2 separate regions of the Homo sapiens genome follow, and region 1 is linked to region 2. Evidence: promoter capture Hi-C in human tissues and cell types (Jung and others, 2019). All regions are on one chromosome and are shown on one strand. The core of a region is centred on a gene start or on the middle of the fragment in contact, and the rest is flanking DNA. Distances in the headings are between cores, read along the strand shown. Region 1 overlaps FRAS1 (Fraser extracellular matrix complex subunit 1). Region 2 holds the start of ANXA3 (annexin A3).

The links. Contacts are between HindIII fragments. The study calls those that stand out against the background at their distance.
Region 1: a contact is called between a fragment that was not itself captured here and the fragment with the promoter of ANXA3 in region 2, in 1 of the 25 tissues and cell types used here (aorta).

What each region holds. Positions count from the first base shown.
Region 1 is chr4:78,501,036-78,506,990 of GRCh38, forward strand. The region is part of intron 61 of FRAS1 (Fraser extracellular matrix complex subunit 1); the gene reads left to right. Among named protein-coding and RNA genes, the nearest start is that of ANXA3, 48 kb to the right of the region's middle. RefSeq lists a silencer at 5,300-5,594. The HindIII fragment of the contact is 3,284 bases long and covers 3,001-5,955 here.
Region 2 is chr4:78,546,929-78,553,019 of GRCh38, forward strand. It overlaps ANXA3 (annexin A3), which reads left to right and starts at 4,842. Exons shown (of 13, transcript NM_005139.3): 1 at 4,842-4,931. RefSeq lists enhancers at 5,207-5,958, 5,262-6,091. The HindIII fragment of the contact is 13,286 bases long and covers 1-4,955 here.

The DNA of each region.
Region 1 (5,955 bases), core at 3,393-5,892, 46 kb before region 2:
ATGCATGTGCCATGTTGGTTTGCTGCACCCATTAACTCGTCATTTACATTAGGTATTCCTCCCAGTGCTATCCCTCCCCCAGCCCTTCATCCTCCAACAGGCCCCATTGTGTGATGTTCCCTGCCCTGTGTCCAAGTGTTCTCATTGTTCAGTTCCCACCTATGAGTGAGGACGTGCAATGTTTGGTTTTCTGTCCTTGTGATAGTTTGCTGAGAATGATGGTTTCCAGCTTCATCCATGTCCCTGCAAATGACAAGAACTCATCCTTTTTTATGGCTACATAGCATTCCATGGTATATATGTGCCACATTTTCTTAATCCAGTCTATTATTGACGGCCATTTGGGTTGGTTCCAAGTCTTTGCTATTGTTAATAGTGCCGCAGTAAACATATGTGTGCATGTGTCTTTATAGTAGCATGATTTATAATTTTTTGGGCATCTACCCAGTAATGAGATTGCTGGGTCAAATGGTATTTCTGGTTCTAGATCCTTGAGGAATTGCCACACTGTCTTTCACAATGGTTGAACTTTTTACACTCCCACCAACAGCATAAAAGCGGTCCTATTTCTCCACATCCTCTCCAGAATCTGTTGTGTCCTGACTTTTTAATGATCGCCAGTCTAACTGGCATGAGACGGTATCTCATTGTGGTTTCAATTTGCATTTCTCTGATGACCGATGGAATTAATTAGATCCCATTTGTCTATTTTGGCTTTTGTTGCCATTGCTTTTAGTGTTTTAGTCATGAAGTCGTTACCCATGCCTATGTCCTGAATGGTATTGCCTAGGTCTTCTTCTAGGGTTTCTATAGTTTTAGGTCTAACATTTAAGTCTTTAATCCACCTTGAATTAATTTTTGTAAAAAGTGTAAGGAAGGGATCCAGTTTCAGCTTTGTATATATGGCTAGCCAGTTTTCTCAGCACCATTTATTAAGTAGGGAATTATTTCCCCATTGCTTTTGTCAGGTTTGTCAAAGATCAGATGGTTGTAAATGTGTGGTGTTATTTCTGAGGCCTCTGTTCCGTTCCATGGGTCTACATATCTCTTTTGGTACCAGTACCATGCTGTTTTGGTTACTGTAGCCATGTAGTATAGTTTGAAGTCAGGTATTGTGATGCCTCCAGCTTTGTTCTTTTTGCTTAGGACTGTCTTGGCAATGAGGGCTCTTTTTTGGCTCCATATGAAATTTAAAGTAGTTTTTTTCCAATTCTGTGAAGAAAGTCATTGGTAGCTTGATCGGGATGGCATTGTATCTATAAATTACCTTGGGCAGTATGGCCATTTTCACGATATTGATTCTTCCTCTCCGTAAGCGTGGAATGTTCTTCCATTTGTTTGTGTCCTCCTTTATTTCATTAAACAGGGGTTTGTAGTTCTCCTTGAAGAGGTCCTTCATGTCCCTTGTAAGTTGGATTCCTAGGTATTTTATTCTCTTTGTAGCAATTGTGAATGGGAGTTCACTCATGATTTGGTTCTCTGTTTATTATAGTTGTATAGGAATGCTTGTGATTTTTGCACATTGATTTTGTGTCCTGAAACTTTCTGAAGTTGCTTATCAGCTTAGGGAGATTTTGGGCTGAGATGATGGGGTTTTCTAAATATACAATCATGTCATCTGCAAACAGGGGCAATTTGACTTCCTCTTTTCCTAATTGAATACCCTTTATTTCTTTCTCTTGCCTGATTGCCCTGGCCAGAACTTCCAATACTGTGTTGAATAGGAGTGGTGAGAGAGGGCATCCTTGTCCTGTGCCAGTTTTCAAAGGGAATGCTTCCAGCTTTTGCCCATTCAATATGATATTTGCTATGGGTTTGTCATAAATAGCTCTTATTATTTTGAGATACATTCCATCAATACCTAGTTTATTGAGAGTTTTTAGCATGAAGAGCTGTTGAATTTTGTCAAAGGCCTTTTCTGCATCTATTGAGATAATCATGTGGTTTTTGTCACTGGTTCTGTTTATGTGATGGATTACCTTTATTGATTTGCATATGTTGAACCAACCTTGCATCCCAGGGATGAAGCCAACATGATCGTGGTGGATAAGCTTTTTGATGTGCTGCTGGATTCGATTCACCAGTATTTTATTGAGGATTTTCGCATTGATGGTCATCAGGGATATTGGTCTAAAAATCTCTTTTCTTGTTGTGTCTCTGCCAGGCTTTGGCATCAGGATGATTCCGGCTTCATAAAATGAGTTAGGGAGAATTACCTCTTTTTCTATTGTTGAATATTTTCAGAAGGAATGGTACCAGCTCTTCTTTGTACCTCTGATAGAATTTGGCTGTGAATCCGTCTGGTCCTGGACTTTTTTTGGTTGTTAGGCTATTAATTATTGCCTCAATTTCAGAGCCTGTTATTGGTCTGTTCAGAGATTCAACTTCTTCCTGGTTTAGTCTTGGGAGGGTGTATGTGTCCAGGAATTTATTCATTTCTTCTAAGTTTTCTAGTTTATTTGCATAGAGGTGTTTATAGTATTCTCTGATGGTAGTTTGTATTTCTGTGGGATCGGTGGTGAGATCCCCTTTATCATTTTTTATTGCATCTATTTGATTCTCCTCTCATTTCTTCTTTATTAGTTTTGCTAGTGGTCAATCAATTTTGTTGATCTTTTCAAAAAACCAGCTTCTGGATTCCTTTATTTGTTTGAAGGGTTTTTTGTGTCTCTATCTCCTCCAGTTCTATTCTGATCTTAGTTATTTCTTGCCTTTTGATGGCTTGTGAATTTGTTTGCTCTTGCTTCTCTAATCCTTTTAACTGTGATGTTAGGGTGTCAATTTTAGATCTCTCCTGCTTTCTCTTGTGAGCATTTAATGCTATAAATTTCCCTCTACACACTGCTTTAAATGTGTCCCAGAGATTCTGGTACATTGTGTCTTTGTTCTCATTGGTTTCAAAGAACATCTTTATTTCTGCCTTAATTTCATTATGTACCCAGTAGTTATTCAGGAGCAGATTGTTCAGTTTCCATGTAGTTGTGCAGTTTTGGGTGAGTTTAGTTAATCCCGAGTGTTAATTTGATTACACTGTGGTCTGAGAGACAGTTTGTTGTGATTTCTGTTCTTTTCCATTTGCTGAGGAGTACTTTACTTCCAATTATGTGGTCAATTTTAGAATAAATGTGATGTGGTGCTGAGAAGAATGTATATTCTGTTGATTTTGGGTGGAGAGTTCTGTAGCTGTCTATTAGGTCTGCTTGCTGCAGAGCTAAGTTCAAGTCCTGGATATCGTTATCAACCTTCTGTCTCATTGATTTGTCTAATATTGACTGACAGTGGAGTGTTAAAGTCTCCCATTATTATTGTGTGGGAATCTAAATCTCTTTGTAGTCTCTAAGGACTTGCTTTATGAATCTGGATGCTCCTGTATTGGGTGTATATACATTTAGGATAATTAACTCTTCTTGTTGAATTGATCCCTTTACCATTATGTAATGGCCTTCTTTGTCTCGTTTGATCTTTGTTGGTTTAAAATCTGTTTTATCAGAGACTAGGATTGCAACCCCTGCTTTTTTTCTTTTGCTTTCCATTTGCTTGGTGGATCTTCCTCCATCCCTTTATTTTGAGCATACGTGTGTCTCTGCATGTGAGATGGATCTCCTGAATACAGCACAATGATGGGTCTTGACTCTTTATCCAATTTGCCAGTCTATGTCTTTTAATTGGGGTCATTTAGCCCATTTACATTTAAGGTTAATATTGTTATGTGTGAATTTGATCCTGTCATTATGATATTAGCTGGTTATTTTGCCCATTAATTGATGCAGTTTCTTCATAGCATCAATGGTCTTTACAATTTGGCATGTTTTTGCAGTGGATGGTACTGGTTGTTCCTTTCCATATTTAGTGCTTCCTTCAGGAGCTCTTGTAAGGCAGGCCTGGTGGTGACAAAATCTCTCAGCATTTGCTTGTCTCTAAAGGATTTTATTTCTCCTTCACTTATGAAGCTTAGTTTGGCTGGATATGAAATTCTGGTTTGAAAAATTCTTTTCTTTAAGAATGTTGAATATTGTCCCCCACTCTCTTCTGGCTTGTAGGGTTTCTGCCAGGAGATCTGCTGTTAGTATGATGGGCTTCCCTTTGTGGGTAATCCGACCTTTCTCTCTGGCTGCCCTTAACATTTTTTCCTTCATTTCCACCTTGGTGAATCTGACAATTATGTGTTTTGGGGTTGCTCTTCTTGAGGAGTACCTTTGTGATGTTCTCTGTATTTCCTCAATTTGAATGTTGGCCTTGCTTGCCAGGTTGGGGAAGTTCTCCTGGATAATATCCTGAAGAGTGTTTTCCAACTTGGTTCCATTTTCCCCATCATTTTCAGGTACACCAATCAAATGTAGATTTTGTCTTTTCACATAGTCCTATATTTCTTGGAGGATTTATTCATTTCTTTTTATTCTTTTTTTCTCTAAACTTCTCTTCTCGCTTTATTTCATTAATTTGATCTTCAATCACTGATATCCTTTCTTCCACTTGATTGAATTGCCTATTGAAGCTTGTGCATGTATCACGAAGCTCTTGTGCCATGGTTTTCAGCTCAATCAGGTCATTTAAAGTCTTCTCGACACTGTTTATTCTAGTTAGCCATTCGTCTACCCTTTTTTCAAGGTTTTTGGCTTCTTTGTGATGGGTTAGAACGTGCTCCTTTAGCTCGGAGAAGTTTGTTATTACCGACCTTCTGAAGCCTACTTCTGTCAACTCGCCAAAGTCATTCTCCATCCATCTTTGTTCCGTTGCTGGTGAGGAGCTGCGATCCTTTGGAGGAGAAGAGACACTCTGGTTTTTAGAATTTTCAGCTTTTCTGTTCTGGTTTATCCCCATCTTTGTGGTTTTATCTGCCTTTGGTCTTTGTTGTTGGTGACCTACAGATGGGGTTTTGGTGTGAATGTCCTTTTTGTTGATGTTGCTGCTATTCCTTTCTGTTTGTTAGTTTTCCTTCTAATAGTCAGATCCCTCAGCTGCAGGTCTGTTGGAGTTTGCTGGAAGTCCACTCCAGACCCTGTTTGCCTGGGTATCACCAGCAGAGGCTGTAGAACAGCAAATATTGCAGAACGGCAAATATTGCTGCCTGATCCTTCCTCTGGAAGCTTCATCCCAGAGGCATGCACCTATATGTGGTGTCCGTCAGCTGCCACTGGGAGATGTCTCCCAGTTAGGCTACACAGGGGTCAGGGACCCACTTGAGGAGGCAGTCTGTCTGTTCTCTGAGCTCAAATGCCATGCTGGGAGAACAACTGCTCTCTTCAGAGCTGTCAGACAGGGACGTTTAAGTCTGCAGAAGTTTCTGCTGGCTTTTGTTCAGCTATGCCCTGCCCACAGAGGTGGAGTCTATAGAGGCAGTAGGCCTTCCTGAGCTGTGGTGGGCTCCCCCCAGTTCGAGCTTCCCAGCCGCTTTGTTTACCTACTTAAGCCTCAGCAATTGCAGACACCCCTCCCCCAGCCAGGCTACAGCCTCGCGGGTTGATCTCAGGCTGCTGCGCTAGCAGCGAGCAAAGCTCCATGGGTATGGAACCCCCCGAGTCAGGCATGGGAGAGAATCCCCTGGTCTGCTGGTTGCTAAGACTGTGGGAAAAGTGCAGTATTTGGGCAGGCGTGTCCCATTTTTCCAGGTACAGTCTGTCACGGCTTCCCTTGGCTAGGAAAAGGAAATCCCCCGACCCCTTGCACTTCTCGGGTGAGGCGACGCCCCTCCCTGCTTCAGCTTGCCCTCCATGGGCTGCACCAATGTCCAACCAGTCCCAGTGAGATGAACCAGGTACCTCAGTTGGAAATGGAGAAATCACCTGTCTTCTGCGTCAATCATGCTGGGAGCTGCAGACCAGAGCTGTTCCTATTCGGCCATCTTGGAACGGTACCCAAAGTGGGTCTTGAAGGCTTGAACCCTCACCTGTTCCAGGTCACTCACCCTCCATGTTACCATCTTTGTGGAGGCTGGCTTGGTAGATAACCTTGAGC
Region 2 (6,091 bases), core at 3,592-6,091:
TCTTTCTGTTTTTCTTGGTTTTTTTTTTTTTTTTAAGATGGAGTCTCGCTCTGTCGCCCAGGCTGGAGTGCAGTGGCGCAATTTCGGCTCACTGCAAGCTCCGCCTCCCGGGTTCATGCCATTCTCCTGCCTCAGCCTCCTGAGTAGCTGGGACTACAGGCGCCCGCCACCACATCCAGCTAATTTTTCGTATTTTTAGTGGAAACAGGGTTTCACCGTATTAGCCAGGATGTCTTGATCTCCTGACCTCGTGATCTGCCCACCTCGGCCTCCCAAAGTGCTGGGATTACAGGCGTGAGCCACTGCGCCCGGCTTATGCCCTATTTTCACCACATGGATGCAATAAACACAACCTGGAAAGCATCACTAATAATAAAATGTCCTCTCCCCCTCCCCCTCCCCCTCCCTCTCCCCACGGTCTCCCTCTCCCTCTCTTTCCACGGTCTCCCTCTGATGCCGAGCCGAAGCTGGACTGTACTGCTACCATCTCGGCTCACTGCAACCTCCCTGCCTGATTCTCCTGCCTCAGCCTGCCGAGTGCCTGCGATTGCAGGCGCGCGCCACCACGCCTGACTAGTTTTCGTATTTTTTTGGTGGAGACGGGGTTTCGCTGTGTTGGCCGGGCTAGTCTCCAGCTCCTAACCGCAAGTGATCCGCCAGCCTCGGCCTCCCGAGGTGCGGGGATTGCAGACGGTGTCTGGTTCACTCAGTGCTCAATGGTGCCCAGGCTGGAGTGCAGTGGCGTGATCTCGGCTCGCTACAACCTCCACCTCCCAGCCGCCTGCCTTGGCCTCCCAAAGTGCCGAGATTACAGCCTCTGCCCGGCCGCCACCCCGTCTGGGAAGTGAGGAGCGTCTCTGCCTGGCCGCCCATCGTCTGGGATGTGAGGAGCCCCTCTGCCTGGCTGCCCAGTCTGGAAAGTGAGGAGCGTCTCTGCCCGGCCGCCATCCCATCTAGGAAGTGAGGAGCGCCTCTTCCGGGCCGCCATCCCGTCTAGGAAGTGAGGAGCGTCTCTGCCCGGCAGCCCATGGTCTGAGATGTGGGGAGCGCCTCTGCCCTGCCGCCCCGTTTGGGATGTGAGGAGCGTCTTTGCCCGGCCGCCCCGTCTGAGAAGTGAGGAGACCCTCTGCCTGGCAACCGCCCCGTCTGAGCAGTGAGGAGCCCCTCCGCCCGGCAGCCGCCCTGTCTGAGAAGTGAGGACCCCCTCTGCCCGGCAGCCACCCCGTCTGGGAAGTGAGGAGCGTCTCCGCCCGGCAGCCACCCCGTCCGGGAGGGAGGTGGGGGGTCAGCCCCCACCAGGCCAGCCACCCCGTCCCGGAGGGAGGTGGGGGTTAGCCCCCCACCCGGCCAGCCGCCTTGTCTGGGAGGGAGGTGGGGGGTCAGCCCCCCGCCCGGCCAGCCGCCCCGTCCGGGAGGTGAGGGGTGCCTCTGCCCGGCCGCCCCTACTGGGAAGTGAGGAGCCCCTCTGCCCGGCCAGCCGCCCCATCTGGGAGGGAGGTGGGGGGGTCAGCCCCCTGCCCGGCCAGCCGCCCCGTCAGGGAGGTGAGGGGCGCCTCTGCCCGGCTGCCCTTACTGGGAAGTGAGGAGCCCCTCTGCCCAGCCACCACCCTGTCTGGGAGGTGTACCCAACAGCTCATTGAGAACGGGCCATGATGACAATGGCGGTTTTGTGGAATAGAAAGGGGGGAAAGGTGGGGAAAGGATTGAGAAATCGGATGGTTGCCGTGTCTGTGTGGAAAGAAGTAGACATGGGAGACTTTTCATTTTGTTCTGTACTAAGAAAAATTCTTCTGTCTTGGGATCCTGTTGATCTGTGACCTTACCCCCAACCCTGTGCTCTCTGAAACATGTGCTGTGTCCACTCAGGTTTGAATGGATTAAGGGCGGTGCAAGATGTGCTTTGTTAAACAGAGGCTTGAAGGCAGCATGCTCCTTAAGAGTCATCACCACTCCCTAATCTCAAGTACCCAGGGACACAAACACTGCGGAAGGCCGCAGGGTCCTCTGCCTAGGAAAACCAGAGACCTTTGTTCACTTGTTTATCTGCTGACCTTCCCTCCACTATTGTCCTGTGACCCTGCCAAATCCCCCTCTGCGAGAAACACCCAAGAATGATCAATTAAAAAATAAATAAATAAATAAATAAATAAATAAATAAATAATAAAAAAAATAATAATAAAATGTGAAATAATTAGGAAGTGGTTAATTTTGAGTACCTATTACCTTTGCTTTTAACGTAATTTATTCAATTGTATTTATTTAACTTGTAATAATGTCTACATTAATACTGGCTGTGAAATAACTGAAAATTCAGGAACTGGCTTTCACATGCTGGTATAACCCAGCTCCAACACATCACTGTAACAGCAGCTATGTATTCAACAGCCACAATCACGTAGTCGGTCTTTCCTTCACATTTTACCATATGTTCTAAATATATCTCAATAACTTTGCTTTAAAAATTTGTATTTGGCTGTTAAATTGTTCTTTTGATCAGGATGCTATAGGAAAATTCCCTTTTTACTAACCTGTAAAGTTCTGTGTATTCAGAATAATGAAACTTTTATTAAATAACCTTTTCTGAATTCTTTTTCTGGATAACCATAAACCTGGATTCTAACAGCATCCTCTAATATTTCCTTCCAAGAAAACTCATCCTTTGGGGAAAAAATAGTTTTATAATATGCCATAGCATGTTTCTAATATAAATGGTGGTAATTGGGCTGTTGATACAACTAGAAAAACTCAAAAAATGATAAAAGTGCATTTGTTAAAGTTACCATCAGGAAATCAAAGAAGTTAAATCCTGAATGGTTTAAACAATTAAAATAAAGCCTACATGTAAAACATCACCTGTTACTCATTTTCTTCTGGCTATAAATCTAGCCCTATGACTTCCTAGTTGCCTGGAATACAACTCGTAGAACTTACTGAGTCCCTCTGAGCCTGTGTCTGTATCTGCAAAATAGAGGCAATCATACCTAATTTACAGCTAGTTGGTAAGCATGACATAGATCACGTACGTCAAGTGCATTACCCAGTGTCTGGCACAAATAATAATAAATATTTTCCCCCATTTCATGCTAATCTCAGAATTTTTTGAGGTAACATGGGATTTAACAGTTTATTGTGGTGAAGTCTGAATGGGAGTCAGGAATTACTATGCAGAACAGAATGCAGAACACCATCCTATCTTCTCTCTTGCAGAAAGCCCATCACTTCGGATTTGTAGATCTGAGAGGGCTCCCAGGGCACTGGCCTTTTAAGCATGACCACTTCTGCCTTCTCCGTTGTAGCTCCTCTTAAACCAGTGGTTCTCAAACTTTAGGATGCATCAGAATCACTTGATGGCGCAGGGTTTCAGGGAATTTGCATTTCTAATGAGTTTCTAGGTCCCAGGACTCAGCCTTAAGGACCAAGACTGTAATCTCTTCAACTCACACTCAAGCAGCTCCAGCCATGCTTATCCTCTAAAAATCCTCTGTGCTCCACCTGTTCACCCTACCTCCTCTCAACTCCTAGAAACCAGTGATTTTTTTTACTGTCTCCGTAGTGTTGCCTTTTCTGGAATGTCATATAGTTGGAATCATAGTGTGTAGCATTTTCAAATGGGCTTCTTTCTCTTAATAATATGCATTTAAGTTTCTTCCATGTGTTTTTATAGCTTGATAGCTAATTTCTTTTCAGTGCTGAATAAAATTCTATTGTATAGATGTATCACAGTTTATTTATCCATTCACCTACGAATTACATCTTGGTTGCTTCCGACTTTTGATACTTAGGAGTAAAGCTACTATAAACATCCATGTGCAGGTGTTTGTGGAGGTAAGTTTTCAAATCCTTCGGGTGAATACATAAGGGGCCCAGTGATGACTGAGTGCAAGCAATACTTTTTACTTACGTGGTCTCGGATAAATCACTTCACTTTTCTAAGCCTCAGTTTTCTCTTCTGCAAATTGTGATAAAAATAGCACCTCCTAGAGTTCCCTTGAAGATAAAAGAGGTAAGGTATTCAAGCACTTCAATGCCTGATACTCAATACATGGTAACTTTTTCTACATCCTTCAGCACACAACTGCTCATAATTCCCTCATACGAGTAGGGCTTTAACCTTTTAGCCTCGATGATTTGTTTTGCTCTTCCAAATGCCTAGAATGCCCTTCCAGGTTACCGTCTCCCTGAGCCTTTGGTTGGAATCCTCATACCAGAGGGTCAACACGTTTAGTAGAGGAATTACTGAAATAGTTGGGTTCCAAACACTAGCTCTGGCATTTACCTTCTGTGTAAATTGGCTGAAGTTACCCAACGTCTCTGTATCTCAATTTCCTCATCTATAAAATGGGGATAATAGTATCTACCTCATAGAGTTGTTGTCGGAGCCATTTTAATGGCAAAAACCGCAATTACTTTTGCACCAACCTAATAAATCCGCGCATATTCTTAAAGAAGTTAGAACAGTGCCTGGTACAAAGTAAATGCCAGATCAATGTTATTAATGTTAGGTGTCCGCCACCTATGCCACGCAGTGAGTTCCTTAGGTATAGGGACAGTCTAATCTCCGAATCCACACTGCCTAGAACAAAATAAGCATTGCAGTACATTTGAGAAAGTAAAGGTGTAGTGGAAACCGAGAGCGAAATGAGGGCGTAGGGAGAAAAGGGTGGGGAAGCTTAGAGACCGGTGAGGGAGCAGAGCTGGGGCGCCTGTGTACAGGGATAGAGCCCGGCGGCAGCAGGGCGCGGCTTCCCTTTCCCGGGGCCTGGGGCCGCAATCAGGTGGAGTCGAGAGGCCGGAGGAGGGGCAGGAGGAAGGGGTGCGGTCGCGATCCGGACCCGGAGCCAGCGCGGAGCACCTGCGCCCGCGGCTGACACCTTCGCTCGCAGTTTGTTCGCAGTTTACTCGCACACCAGTTTCCCCCACCGCGCTTTGGGTAAGTTCAGCCTCCCGGCGCGTCCCCGCGAGCCTCGCCCACAGCCGCCTGCTGACGGGTGGCTTGGGGAGGTCGCGGCGCCTCGCCCAGTTCCCCCGCGAGTGCAGCTCGACCCTGGGCAGGGCTGGCGGCTGGCGCCCGCGCCCGGCCCCAACCCAGCTGCGTGGGTGGGGAGCTGGAGGGACCTCAGTCCTGCATTTCAGAGTCGAGGAGACTGGGCCCACGGGGGGGAAAGTGCCGTGCCATGGGTGGGTCACCCAGGTCTTGGTGGGGCCCAAGCTGATACTCAGCTGTCCTCGCTCCCTGAAAGCTTCGCTTATTACAGCTAGCAGCGTAAGGGATCCACTTAGCCATCTCGGCCTCCCCAGTCCTAAAGGTCTAGGGGACAGAAAAAAGCTGGGAGTCGGAAGGTTCCTCGGGTCCCCGGCATGGCAGACGGGGCTGGCTCAGAGGTCTGCTCTGTGGACTTGGAATCGCACCCATCCTGTGAGCATCTTCTCCCCCTCACATAGGCAATTTATTTTATTTTACTTATTTTTTTTAGAAGGTAGAAAACAGTGGATTTGCATATTGAGGGTTGGAAGTTCAAGAAGTTTGCTTTTTCCTGAAAAGACTAACCGTTTTCTTTGCAACAGAATCCTATTGACTAGATATGAATCATTCCCTTGGTATTTGAGTCACCAGGTGGAAGATTTGGATACTTGATTGCAGATGACCATATATAGGAAAGTATGCAGGTGCTGGGAGGTTCTGGGTCGCTGGAGGCCCCTCTGGCTACTGATACGAAATTGCATAGCCCAGGCCGAATTCTTTCCAAGGATTTGTGTTCAGCACTGACAGCAAGACCCTGCCCTCCGGGAAAGATACATTTACTATGTTCACCAACATCATTTTTTAAAATGTAACTAATTAAAACGTTACTCCATGAAGATACCACCTTTGGTTTTCACGAAGACGGAAAACTTCAGACTGACCAGAAAGGGAATTTTTAAATGTAAAGAAAACCAGAATCTTGTTCCCAGAACTCTGTGGTTGTGTAGAGAAACCTGTTTAGAAATAACCGTAGAGGAGGAAGTAAAAGGAAATGATGTAATCCCTTTCAGGAAAGGATATATTGAAATTCTGTTTAAGTCATTTGGCCTTCGCTGTGGAGTAATTCT